Regions from separate parts of the Homo sapiens genome. Here region 1 is linked to region 2. The links are contacts of gene promoters, found by promoter capture Hi-C in human tissues and cell types (Jung and others, 2019). All regions are on one chromosome and are shown on one strand. The core of a region is centred on a gene start or on the middle of the fragment in contact, and the rest is flanking DNA. Distances in the headings are between cores, read along the strand shown.

What was found. The method cuts DNA at HindIII sites, captures the fragments that hold promoters and counts their contacts. A contact is called where the count stands out against the background at its distance.
Region 1: a fragment that was not itself captured here is called in contact with the fragment with the promoter of OXR1 in region 2 in 1 of the 25 tissues and cell types used here (lymphoblastoid cells).

Annotation. Positions count from the first base shown.
Region 1 is chr8:104,762,313-104,768,387 of GRCh38, forward strand. No RefSeq gene overlaps it. Among named protein-coding and RNA genes, the nearest start is that of LRP12, 180 kb to the left of the region's middle. The HindIII fragment of the contact is 4,319 bases long and covers 1,640-5,958 here.
Region 2 is chr8:106,266,735-106,272,893 of GRCh38, forward strand. It overlaps OXR1 (oxidation resistance 1), which reads left to right and starts at 3,456. Exons shown (of 17, transcript NM_001198533.2): 1 at 3,456-3,633. RefSeq lists silencers at 3,181-3,430, 3,451-3,810. The HindIII fragment of the contact is 5,628 bases long and covers 337-5,964 here.

The DNA.
Region 1 (6,075 bases), core at 2,549-5,048, 1.5 Mb before region 2:
CTTTATGATCTGTGTCTTGTGCTGACCTCCTATCTCATCCCGTGACTAAGAATGCCTTAACCTCCTGGGAATGCAACCCAGTAGGTCTCAGCCTTATTTTACCCAGCCCCTATTCAAGATGGAGTCACTCTGGTTCAAACGTCTCTGACACACTGGTTAATGATTGGCTATACATTGTTGAAGTACAGGGTGTACAGCATTTTATGGCTACTTGGCATCAGTTAGTCTAGAGCCTACATTGCAAGTGGCTTCAAGAAACAATTATTTTCATTTTTAATTTTTGTGGGTACATAGTAGGTATATATATTTATGGGATACATGAGATATTTTGATACAGGCATACAATGTGTAATAATTATATCAGGATAAATGGGGTATGTATCAGCTCAAGGGCGAGTGAGGTATGACTAGTGTTATATTTCAAATGCCTTTCTGGGCCTGATAATTTAAAGGGGCTCACATTCCTCAGATAAAAAGTATTTTTCTTTCTCACGGTCATGTTTCCTGGCACTGCAGAGGGTGTACTGCAGCTGAAAGCTGGAGATCCTGTGGGAGAATCACAGGGTCAGATCATTCAATCAGAAGTAGACATTTGCTCTGAAGGATCTACTTCTCTTTTGGGTCTGCGCCCTCCACGTGTCAGGGGCAGCACATCCCCTTCATTTTATTTATTTATTCCAGGCCTAGAAGACTTGGCATTCTGTCATTCACTGTGAAATTTTGGGATAACATTCTTAGTTTTCCTGTTTCTAGACTAGTTCTCAAGCTTCCTGGATGACTTCTCAGGGCTCTATAAGGGCAGGCAGGATCAGAGGTTAGCTTCGCACTCTACCCTCCCACCCCCCAGTGCTTCTCTGAGGGCGCTGGTGATGTTCTGGAGACTACATTCAATTGTGTTTTCTCAAACTCATCTGCCGTGACATTTGTTACAGGAAAGGGGTCTGGATCCAGATCCCAAGGGAGGGTTCTTGGATCTCGCACAAGGAAGAATTCAGGGCGAGCCCATGGAGTAAAGTGAAAACAAGCTTATTAAGAAAGTAAAGGCATGAAAGAATGGCTACTGCATAGGCAGAGCAGCCTTGAGGGCTGCTGGTTGCCCATTTTTATGTTGTTTTTTTTTTTTTTAAATTATATACTAAAGAGGTGAATCCCCTTTTTAGACCGTATAGGATAACTTCCTGATGTTGCCATGGCATTTATAAACTGTCATGGCGCTAGTGGGAGTGTAGCAGTGAGGAAGGCCAGAGGTCACTCTAGTGGCCATCTTGGTTTTGGTGGGTTTTGGCCAGCTTCTTTACTGCAAACTGTTTTATCAGCAAGGTCTTTATGACCTGTATTTTGTGCTGACCTCCTATCTCATCCTGTGACTTAGAATGCCTTAACCATCTGGGAATGCAGCCCAGTAGGTCTCAGCCTTATATTACCCAGCTCCTATTCAAGATGGAGTTGCTCTGGTTGAAACACCTCTGACACTGTCAGCATTGGGATGTAGGGGACTACTTCCTCCAACTAAACACAAAACCTTACTGGGACTTTTGTGAGAATACACATTAGTTTTCTTCTAGTTTCTGCTGTCACCATTGCTGAATTTTCGATGTGGGTGACCTCCCTCTTTACTATTTATCTTTGGGCAAACAAATCCTGCCTTATTTTCAGTGACTACTAATATAATATAGATGCTAAATGTAGGCCTTCATAGATAATGCCCTCAGCCCTAACCCTGTCTGATCTCCAATGCCATGATCCATCAGCATAGAAGACATTCCACTTGGATATCTTCCCATCACTCAACCCCAAACAAGTCCTAAATATAAGTCACGGGCATCGTCTTTCCCAAACCCCCTCATCTCACGACTTGTCCATTTCTGCCAGTGTTACCACCTTCCATCCTCCCAGTCATTCAGGCTCAAAACCTTGGTATCATCTTTCCCTCTTCCTTCTTACTGGTACCTTATATCCACCCAGTTGCCAGGACTTATTGGTTGAATTATTACCAGTCATTGAAATTTGATAGAATTAGCAGCAATATTTTACTTTGTACTAATCTCTGTGCCTTTCCTTCTTTCCGCCCATACTCTGCCCCCATCACCTGTCAGTCTAAGGCCAGGAACATTGCCTGAAGGCGAGTAGGGATTTCAGTGCAGGAATGTAAAGATAAGAGTTAGCTTTCTTTTTGACTTCCAAATTATGCTCTTGAGAATCAAAAGGGAGAGTGCCAGCGCAGGCAGGGCTTAGTGTTTATGCAGCAATGAAGCTTAGAAAGAGAATTAAAGGAGAGAGTTAAAGTGTAAAGGCCACCTGGAGAATGACCCGGGGGCTATTTTGAGGAAGGGCATGAAAGGCTTGGAAGATGGAAAATGCCAAGGAACCACTGGGAGCTGACCCATTCCCTACCATGCATCCTACCAGCCAGCAGAGACCCTCATAGCTCAGGGAGGAGGGTGGTCCATCCAGCACTTCATCTCATCTGTGAATTGTCCCATGGGGTTCCTATTCTGACTGCCCTGCTCGTTAGTCCTTCCAGAAAGGGAGGAGGTGGGATGTTCTTAACCTAGCAAGTAGTTAAGATTCTTAACCTTAACAAATGGAAGAAAGAGCCCCAACATCTGGACTTGGGCGGGACTCTTTTTACTAACACCTCTGCAGCTGGTAATTGTCAGATCATCATCAAGGAGGGCTGATAGGCTGGAAAAAAAATGCTGCACACATACAATCTGATCTTGACAAAATCAACAAAACAAGCAACGGGGAAAGGACTGCCTATTCAATAAATGGTGCTAGGATAACTCATTAGCCATATGCAGAAGATAGAAACTGGACCCCTTCCTTATACCATATGCAAAAATCAACTTAAGGTGGATTAAAGACTTGAATGTAAAATCTGAAACGATGACAATCCTGGAAGACAACCTAGGAAATACTATTTTGGACATAGAACTTGGCAGAGATTTCATGATGAAGACACCAAAAGCTATTGTAACAAAAACAAAAATTGACAAATAGGACCGAATTAAACTAAAGAGCATCTGCACAGCCAAAGAAACTATCAATAGAGTAAACAGACAACCCACAGAATGGGAGAAAATACTTGCAAACTATGCATTTGACAAAGGTCTAATATCAAGAATCTATAAGGAGCTTAAATATATAAGCAAAAAAAAAAAAACCATTAAAAACTGGGCAAAAGACATCAACAAACACTTTGCAAAAGAAGATATACATGTGGCCAACAATCATGAAAAATAGCTCAGCATCGGCCGGGCGCGGTGGCTCACACCTATAATCCCAGCACTTTGGGAGGCCTAGGCGGGCGGATCACGTGGTCAGGAGATCAAGACCATCTTGGCTAACATGGTGAAACCCTGTCTACTAAAAATACAAAAAATTAGCCAGGCACGCTGGCAGGCGCCTGTAATCCCAGCTACTCAGGAGGCTGAGGCAGGAGAATGGCGTGAACCCGGGAGGCGGAGCTTGCAGTGAGCCGAGATAGCGCCACTGCACTCCGGGGCCTGGGCGAAAGAGCGAGACTCCGTCTCAAAAAAAAAAAAAAAAAAAAAAATAGCTCAGCATCACTGATCATTAGAGAAATGCAAATCAAAACCACGAAGAGATACCATCTCATACCAGCGAGAGTCGCTATTACTAAAAAGTTAAAAAATAACAGATCCTGGTGAGGTTATAGAGAAAAGGGAACACATACACTGCTGGTGGGAGTGTAAATTAGTTCAGCCATTGTGGAAAGCAGTTTGGTAATTTCTCAAAGAACTTAAAGCCAAATTACCATTTGACCCAGCAGTCCCATTATTGGGTATATACCCAAAGAAATATAAATCATTCTGCCATAAAGACACATGCACCCTGTATATTCATTGCAGCACTATTCACAATAGCAAAGACATGGAATCAACCTAAGTGCCCATCAATGGTAGACTGGATGAAGAAAATGTGGTACAAGTGCATCATAAAATACTAAGCAAACATCAAAAAAGGAATGAGTTCATGCCCTTTGGAACAACATGGATGGCACTGGTGGCCATTATCCTAAACAAAATAACACAGGAACAGAAAACCAAATATTGAATGTCCTCTCTTATAAGTGGGAGCTAAATATTGAGTACATATGGACAAAAAGAAGGGAATAACAGACATCAGGGTCTACTGGAGGGTAGAGGGTGAAAGGAGGGTAAGGATTGAAAAACTACCTATCGGGTACAATGTTTCTTAACCTGGGCGATAAAATGATCTGTACACCAAATCCCTGTGACATGCAATTTACCCATGTAGCAAATCTGCACGTGTATCCTTGGACCTAAGATAAAAGTTAAATAAATAAATAAATAAATTGAAATATATATATATATGTATATATATATTTTTTAAGGAAGGCTGATGGGAAAGTGAAATCTAACTCCTTTCTTTTTCTCAGAGGTTTGCATTTTCTGGAGGAGATTTGGTGATATTAGTCTTCCCCTGAGCAGTCCAAAGGTCTGGCTTCCTAAAATATAGTGGAAAAAAAAGATAGGATGTAAAAAACTATTAAGCAGTTAATTTTATTCAGGCTTTATTCAACATTAGAGAAAATGTTCATTAATCAGAACCATCTCAAAGAAAGAGAAAACCTTTTCTACTGAGGTAAATAAACAAGGAGTCCCAAGGAAAGGTGGACAGAAAGTGAGTCTTCGTAAATATAAAGTGTGTGTGTGTGTGTGTGTGTGTGTGTGTGTGTGTGTGTGTGTCTCGTTATGTTGCCCAGGCTAGTCTCGAACTCTTGGGCTCAAGCAATCCTCCTGCCTTGGCCTCCCTAAGTGCTGGGACAGGCGTGAGCCACTGTGCCCTGCCTAGCAAGCAAATCTTATCTGAGTCATGAGAAACATATGGAAGGGCAAGATGGTGCTTTGTGATGTGCCCTTTTTTGGGACACAATAGGGTTCAGGGGGATCTTTTAACTGTAGCTGCTTTCAGGGAACACAGGGCTCAGATAAAGTTCAGTGTAGTCAAGGGAAAACTGTCAAGCAAATACAAGCATGCTGATATTTCCCACTTTTGCAGTTAAAGGCTTCTTTTCCTATCTTGTTCCCTGCTAGTTGTCAACTAATTCTTAATGAAGTGCGAAAACCCCGAGGTTCGATCTGCATAAAAATGTTTTATGTGAGGTTATGTTTGGACTATGTTATGACTTTTAAATTAAAAGGAGGCCCACTTAGTAATCTGTAAAAGCTAAGCTCTGACAGGTGACAGTTTGCCTGGACTATTACATGAAAATCTTCTGTCTTAAAAGACACATTTTTTCTTTAACATACCCAGGTCTGCTTTGATAGGACTCCTACGATTGTATGTCTCCTCTGGACCCTCTTCTAAGTAGAGGTTCTTCAGCCTCTAGATATTTGGGACTCTTTTTTTTTGATGGGGACTGTCCTGTGCACTGTAGCATGTTTAGCAACATCCCTGGCCTCTACCCTCTAAATGCCAGTAGCATTCCCGCTTCTGACATCTGGTCCCCATCCCACCCCTGCCCCGACCTTTGTACAATGAGAAATGTCTCCAATCATTGCCAAATGTCCTAAATGTCCTTGGGGGAGGAGGAACCATCCTCAATTGATTACCACTGATTTAAGAGTTTATGCATTAGATTCAGAAAATGCTAGGATTCGAGTAGGAATAGAGCATATAAGACATAGCTTGAGATAGAGTTTAATGAAATAATCAGGTTGCTAGCATATCAGCATGAAACACCATTGGAGGCCAAGGAAGTGGATGGAAAAGCCCAGCATAACTAGTACCAAGTGTTAAACATCCAAAGTAAGGTCAAGGGAAAGACTGGTGACTAATTAGGAGCAACTCGAGAGTTTCCAAATGAACAAACCTAAAGAATAAATGTGTTCAGGAGACTCAAAAGTACACTCAAAGGCTATGGGTTATAGCCACTGGATTCTAATTCTATTATTTTTATACTTAATCATTTCATATTGAGATATGAGTTTTTTGGCTTTATTCAATTTGTATTAATTTTGTACAATAAAATGGTATTTTATATTTTAAGGGGCACGTGTTTCACCATGCTGTCTTCTTTTTCAT
Region 2 (6,159 bases), core at 2,206-4,705:
TGTAGGTTAAGATGTGGTATGTGGGAGGCTGAGACAGGAGAATTATTGGAATCCTGGAGGCAGAGGTTGCAGTGAGCTGAGATAGTGCCACTGCACTTCAGCCTGGGCAACAGAGTGAGACTCCGTTTCAGAGAAAAAAAAAAAAATATGTTTGCTGTGGTGTGACAGAGCTAAGGGAGGAGTTCCTAGAAGACAATGTACAAAGTCATGAGAAGAAGTTCAAGGAAAAGATCCTGGATTTGATAAGTTTAACGTAACTATAGAATGCAGTTTAAATGAGATGACTCATGGATTGCATTGATTTATTCCTAGAATAACAAATATTAAAGGAGGTAACAAACAAATTGCATAAGATAAGTAAAGGGAAAAAAGACAGCCAATTATTCAAATAATTCTAGCATAAGAAATAATACAAAACTATAAGGACAGCAGCATTTCCCCCATCTGTTCATGTTTTGAGGCACAATGGGAAAACCCCCACTTTTTATTATCAAATGGTTTACATAATGATCAAGTACATTAGATCAAAACAAAAAAAATGGGCTTTAATAATATGGAAAACATCCTTTTCCTGCAGAGACAGATTGGGGACTGAAAGCGTCAGTTGGCTGGGTGGCTCATTAGCTGTCTTTAATGAGTGGCACCACCTTGGAAATAACCAGGGCCCTGAAATAAAGATGAAAAGGCAACAAAGAGGGGACTCTCTGTTACCCTTAGGCAGGCAAATCAAAGCAACTGAGCCTAAAAAGAGATGGGAAAAGTTCACTTCAAAGCATTATTATTATCTTGCTCATTTCTGAATAACTGAAACCAACGGACCTCCCAACACACTTGCTGTCCTTTTTTTGTCCATGGGGAAACAGGCCAGTCTATGAGTTTACTGGTTATCCATTATTTCCATCTTGCAAACATCCCCTATTCCTTCTTTTGCTAACCAAATACTTTTTTCCCTTTTGAGAATCTTTCATCCCCAAGAGGATGCAGGTGGTTGATTGTGTGAGCCAGGACAGCCAATAAGAGTACACCTTCAAAGATTGATCTGCTCAACAGAACAAGAGACTTGATTTCTTTGTAAGGTTACAAAATTTGTCAACTGTGTAGGGCTGGCACTATGGACATAATGTGAGGGGAATGAAACCAACACAGGAAGCAATGCCGAAAGCAAGTTAGAGAAAGAGAAAATCATATTCTTCCTAATGTTGTTAAGCCCAGGACAAGCCCTGCTATTTCTAGTACTTCTGAGTTACACGGGTCAATGCATTTTCTCTGCCTAAGTTAGAATTGCATCCCTGTCACTTGTTACTTCGAGTCCTCAATGCAGTACGTTTTTGAGCTACACTTTTCCATAGGACACCAAAGAGACTTTGAAATCAAGATTTTCCCTGTTTCATGATTATGGGTAGTGTGCATGCTGTAGCATGAAGATGTTCAGAGTGCCATACCACCTTAAGAATAATTACTGAAAGAGGAAGAATGAAAGCAACCAGGATGAAAGTAAAGTTTATTTTTCACCTTCCTTCACCACTGATAGAAAGGAATGATTTGTGTTGATAGTCTAAGGAAATTCACATTTTGATCTCCCAATGAATCACCTATGGAAAATTAGAAACATGATGTTGTCATTATAAAGTGGCCCTGGTCCTGCAGATAATATTTGCAGCTTCAGTAAAAAAGTAAAAGATCAAACCTTAATTGATTACTTATTTTGGGGTGCACATGGCACTAAATTGCAAGTGGGGATGGAAGGGCGCAAATATCTTAGGAGGGAGGACATCTTGACCCAAATAGACAGATTCCACTACAGTTCTATGAAAAAATCACATGTACATTACTTAGTAGGGTTAGCAAAGTCTAACTAATTTATAATACTGGGAAAACAAAGTAGCTTTATCACAGAGTCTGAACTGAGATAATTATAAAATACATACCTAGTCTATACATTGCTTGTAGAAGATTCTCAGTAAAATCTTTCTGATAGAATAAAAATTAAACGCTATCAGTTTCAACATAACAGAAAATTTAAGCTGCGAATGCTCGTAAAGAAATTAGGTAAAAATAATGGAGAACAAAACCCGCAATCGGCTTATCAATCGGCTTACTGTTGACACGCCACGCCACTCAGAATAGTATCTAATTTTCTTGATCCCTTATCTCAGGTAAAGCTATTGACTCGGGGAAATAGGTTATGCGGAAACCATGAAAGTTTCTAGTCTGGCCGACCCTAGGTTCAACACTCTATTATTCCAGACAAGCGATGAGCTCCTGTCGCTAAATTTCAACATCCCTGTCTGTCAAATGGGAATAATAATGATTCTCTCATTGGGTGGCTGTGAGAGGTGAGTGAAACAAGACGGAAATTTGACCCAGGAAATATCTGTACCTCTTACTTTAAAGAACAGAATTAAAAAATAATAATAAATGATCAGAAATTAAGGTAGAATAGAGTGAACACTAATAGCGGGAAATAGCTAATTTGCAGGTGAGGTGGCTGAAAGGCTCCTACGCTTGAAGTGTTTGCTGGATGCACAGGAGATCTGGGATACATCCCGAACTCGGCAACAGGACCAGCTCCTTTCCTCAGGGTTACAGAACAGCCAGGTTCCAGTTCAGGTCTGGGAATCTACCCATCCAGAGTTTGCGCCCTTTTCGTTTTGCAATTTAAAACCGGGTTGGAGGGGGAAGGAGTGAAGGCAGCATGCGGAGAAAGTAAATTACAGTTCAGGTGACAGGAACAAGAAAATCTCCAAGGTCAGGGTGGGGTGTCAACGAATTATGCAAAACACTGCGGAATGAGGAGTCACAAACGCCTTGCAAAGAATTCTGAATTTTAGAAGCTCTTTGCAGAACCCCCTTCAGCCCGCTCCAAGCTGCCTTGGGTCCCTTTCTAGGCTGTCAGACTTCGCCTTCCTTTCCTCCTTGTTTTTCCCAGCAACCAAAGCATCTGAAGAACATTTTTTTCCTCCGTAAATCTGAACAAATTTCCTTGCAGCTTTCCTTGCAGAAGCTTTTTTATCGCTTTAACAAAACTTTCCTCTGCTTCTCTAGGGAGAGCCTAGTATTAGAGCTGCCCGACAGGCGGGACCCCGAAATCGGGGCAGCTCTGGCTTAGTCCAGGCTATTCGAGTGGGCGCCTGAACTGGAGGCGCCGTCTCCACCGGGATGGGGATCCTAGTGCAGGCAGACGCCTGGCAGGACTCGGCGAGCTGGGGTCCCCACCGCGGTAGCCAGAGCAGAAACCCGAACCCCAGCCAGAGGGGCCGCGCGCGGGGAGGGGTGCGCGCTAAGCCAGCGTGGCTTCCGCAGGAGCTATTTTTAGCGGTGCGTGCCTCCCCCCGCCCCCGGCGTGGTAGCCTCCGGCTCGCGGCGCCCCACGGCTCCTCTCAGTCTCCCCCGCCGCTGCCGGCTCTTGGTAGCTTCCACGCGGGCAGGTCCGGAAACTGAGCATGTCTGCAAGCGCTCAGCGGCGCCGGCAGCAGCGGGGCTAGAGCTGGGCTGCGTCAGGCTGAGCCCATTCACCTCGCGGCCACAGGAGCTCAGCGCCGGCGCCGCGCCGCCCAGCCCCGCCGAGAGGGGCGCACTCGCCGCCGCGGGGCCCGCCGCCGCTCACCGCAGCCCCCTCCTGGCGACCCGCAAGTAAGTTTGTGAGGCTGCTGGGCGTTAGGGCGAGGGCTTGGCGCCCGGGGGAGTCCAGGAGGGATAGCGAGAGGCGCGGCTGGCGCCCGGGAGAGCCGGCTGGCCTCTGCCCCCTGTGCCTGGCGCCTCTCCGAGCCACTTAGCCAATTTGAAAGCGGGTGGCCATTGGGATGCTCGAGCGGGGACGACGGGCAGAGCAGGAGGGCAGAACTAGCTCCAGCGGGGGCCCAGAGGGCGGACTTGGGAAGAAGGAAAGACCGCGCGGCGAGGGAGGAGACCGGGCGGCGAGGGAGGAGACCGGGCGGGGAGGCTGGGTTTGGGGCGCGGGAGCCCGGCCAGGGACAGCCGCAGAAGGAAAGTGGGGGTGTCGCCGGGGGATAGAGTGGGAGCAGCGTGAGAGCAGTGTTGGGGGCGCAGAGTGGAGGGCAAGCGTGTCTTGAACAGAACGGCAGGAGGATGGGTGGAAAGTGGGGCGCGTGGAAAGCGGATTTGGACGAGAGCAAAGGACGCCGGTGGAAGGGACAGTGGGCTCCGGAGGGGCGAGTGGATTCGGATAATTTGGGGAATCAGTAAAAGGCTAGGGGGCACATCATGATGGAGTCAGCCTGGAATCTGTCTCCCGCTAGAGTACCCGAGGCCACATGTTGGGAACTGGCTGGGGAAAGGATGGATGTAGAAAGTGGCCTGGAGGGCCGACTGGAAAATCGCTGAGGGATTTGGGTGAAGAGGGGGGGAGCTGTGCAGTATCGGGCGGAGGAACTGGGCTGCTGGTAGGGCCTGAAAGGTTCAGGAGAGGGTTGGAGGCTTCCCCGTGCCGCCCCTTGAATAGTGATTTAGTACTGTTATCTGAGGTTCACTTTCACCCCTGGCTCCTCCTCCGTCTACTACCCGGCTTGGACGCACCTCGGCTCGCTGTAGGCGAGCTTTAGGAGATTTAAATAGACATTAGGCAGTGGGGAAGGTAGTCGTTTACGGGGGGAGCTGCTCGGGCTTCCGTTCAGTGGTTCCCGGCACGCTCAGGGTGCAGTGTAGGGTCTGAATGTGTGTATTGCGGGGGTAGGGGGAGTGGTGTCAGTTCTAGGCCACAGGAATTCGTGGTCTGGCCCCAGAGGTGCGGTGTTTTTGGCCGGGAAGTCAGGCAGAAGTCTGCAGCGTGCAACTCGCAGCGGGGCGTGTGTGTGCGTGTGTGCGCGCGCGTGTGCATGTTTCCGGCCCGGGGTCGCGTGTGTGGCTGCAGCCTGTCTCCGTGACAAGAAGATCCAGGGATCTACGGGCGGCACGGGGAAGGGATTAAGGGGAACATACTTCCCTACGTCTTTTCTGCCTCCTTTTCCCAGGGTAGCATTCTTTGCTTATCCAATGATGCCTCTTTCTAACCTCTCCCTCTCCACTTACATCCCAAACCTGATGCGGGTCTTCTCTGATTCGGCACTCTAAGGAGGACTCAGCCGCCGGCTGCGACCACCGTGGACTCCCTCTATGGAAGGGAATCCTGGGAGTCCCGGCCGTCAGAGGGGTTCCCAAATCCAAAGGGTCCATCTCCAAGGCGTCACTCCAGGGGTCCGCGGTTCACTTTGCTGCCCCTTGCAGGTGATGCTGTGATTGTTGCCTGCGGACTGGGAAGCACGATGGCTCCAAAAGGCCAGCGGGGCCGAGAAGCAGGGACAGAGACCAGCATTTAAGGGATCTCTGGTGGGGGCCTCCCTGGAGTTCTCCACATGTAAATATAGCGAAAAAAGAAAACACTACGTTACTAGAATAAACACGTCCTAAAATTTCTGTGCAAAAACACCTTTTTGAACAGCAAAGATTTCACCCACCAAAACAAGGAAGCAAGAAGCTTCCACAGTGTGCAGGATCCGAAACAGGACCGGCCCGGCGTTGGGTGAGAGTGGGGGAGGGGTTGTCGGCTTCTCCATCCAGCTTGCCATGTTCTGTCGTCGGTTTCACATTTTCAGAGAGACTTTACCAGATGCAGGAAATGAGGATGAAGGCAACTCTGGAAGGATGCAAAGAAGGGAGAGCAAGCACTGTACCTACTGTCTGCTGTCTAAGAGGGCTGGTCTCATAACTAAAAGGTCCAGTCCCTGAGATCTTGTGTGCAACCGTCAGAAATAGTTCAGGACATCAAATTGCACAGAGAAGATTCAGATGAAGGGAAACAAGAACTCTGTGGAAAACTGTTGGGGACAGTGGCACGAGTTGTCTTGCAAGGTGATGTCTGTCCCGTGGAGGGACACAAGAGCGAGGACAGCATGGTTCTAATGGCCAGGGCATGTCTTCTTATTCCATGTGACAGTGGCTGGCTGAGTTGCTAGTACGTTTTTGAAATATACCCTTTGAAATATGTTGATTATTCTGGACATCTGTAAGGTGGGAGATTTGAATAAAAAGACTTCTGCTGTCATTATTGGCTTTTATGGCTATGATTTTTTTCAGTCATTATTATAAATCATGTGAAGGTAAAATAAATGATCATTTTAGCCATTCTGTTCTGCACAGAATGCTGTTCAAATAAAACATCAT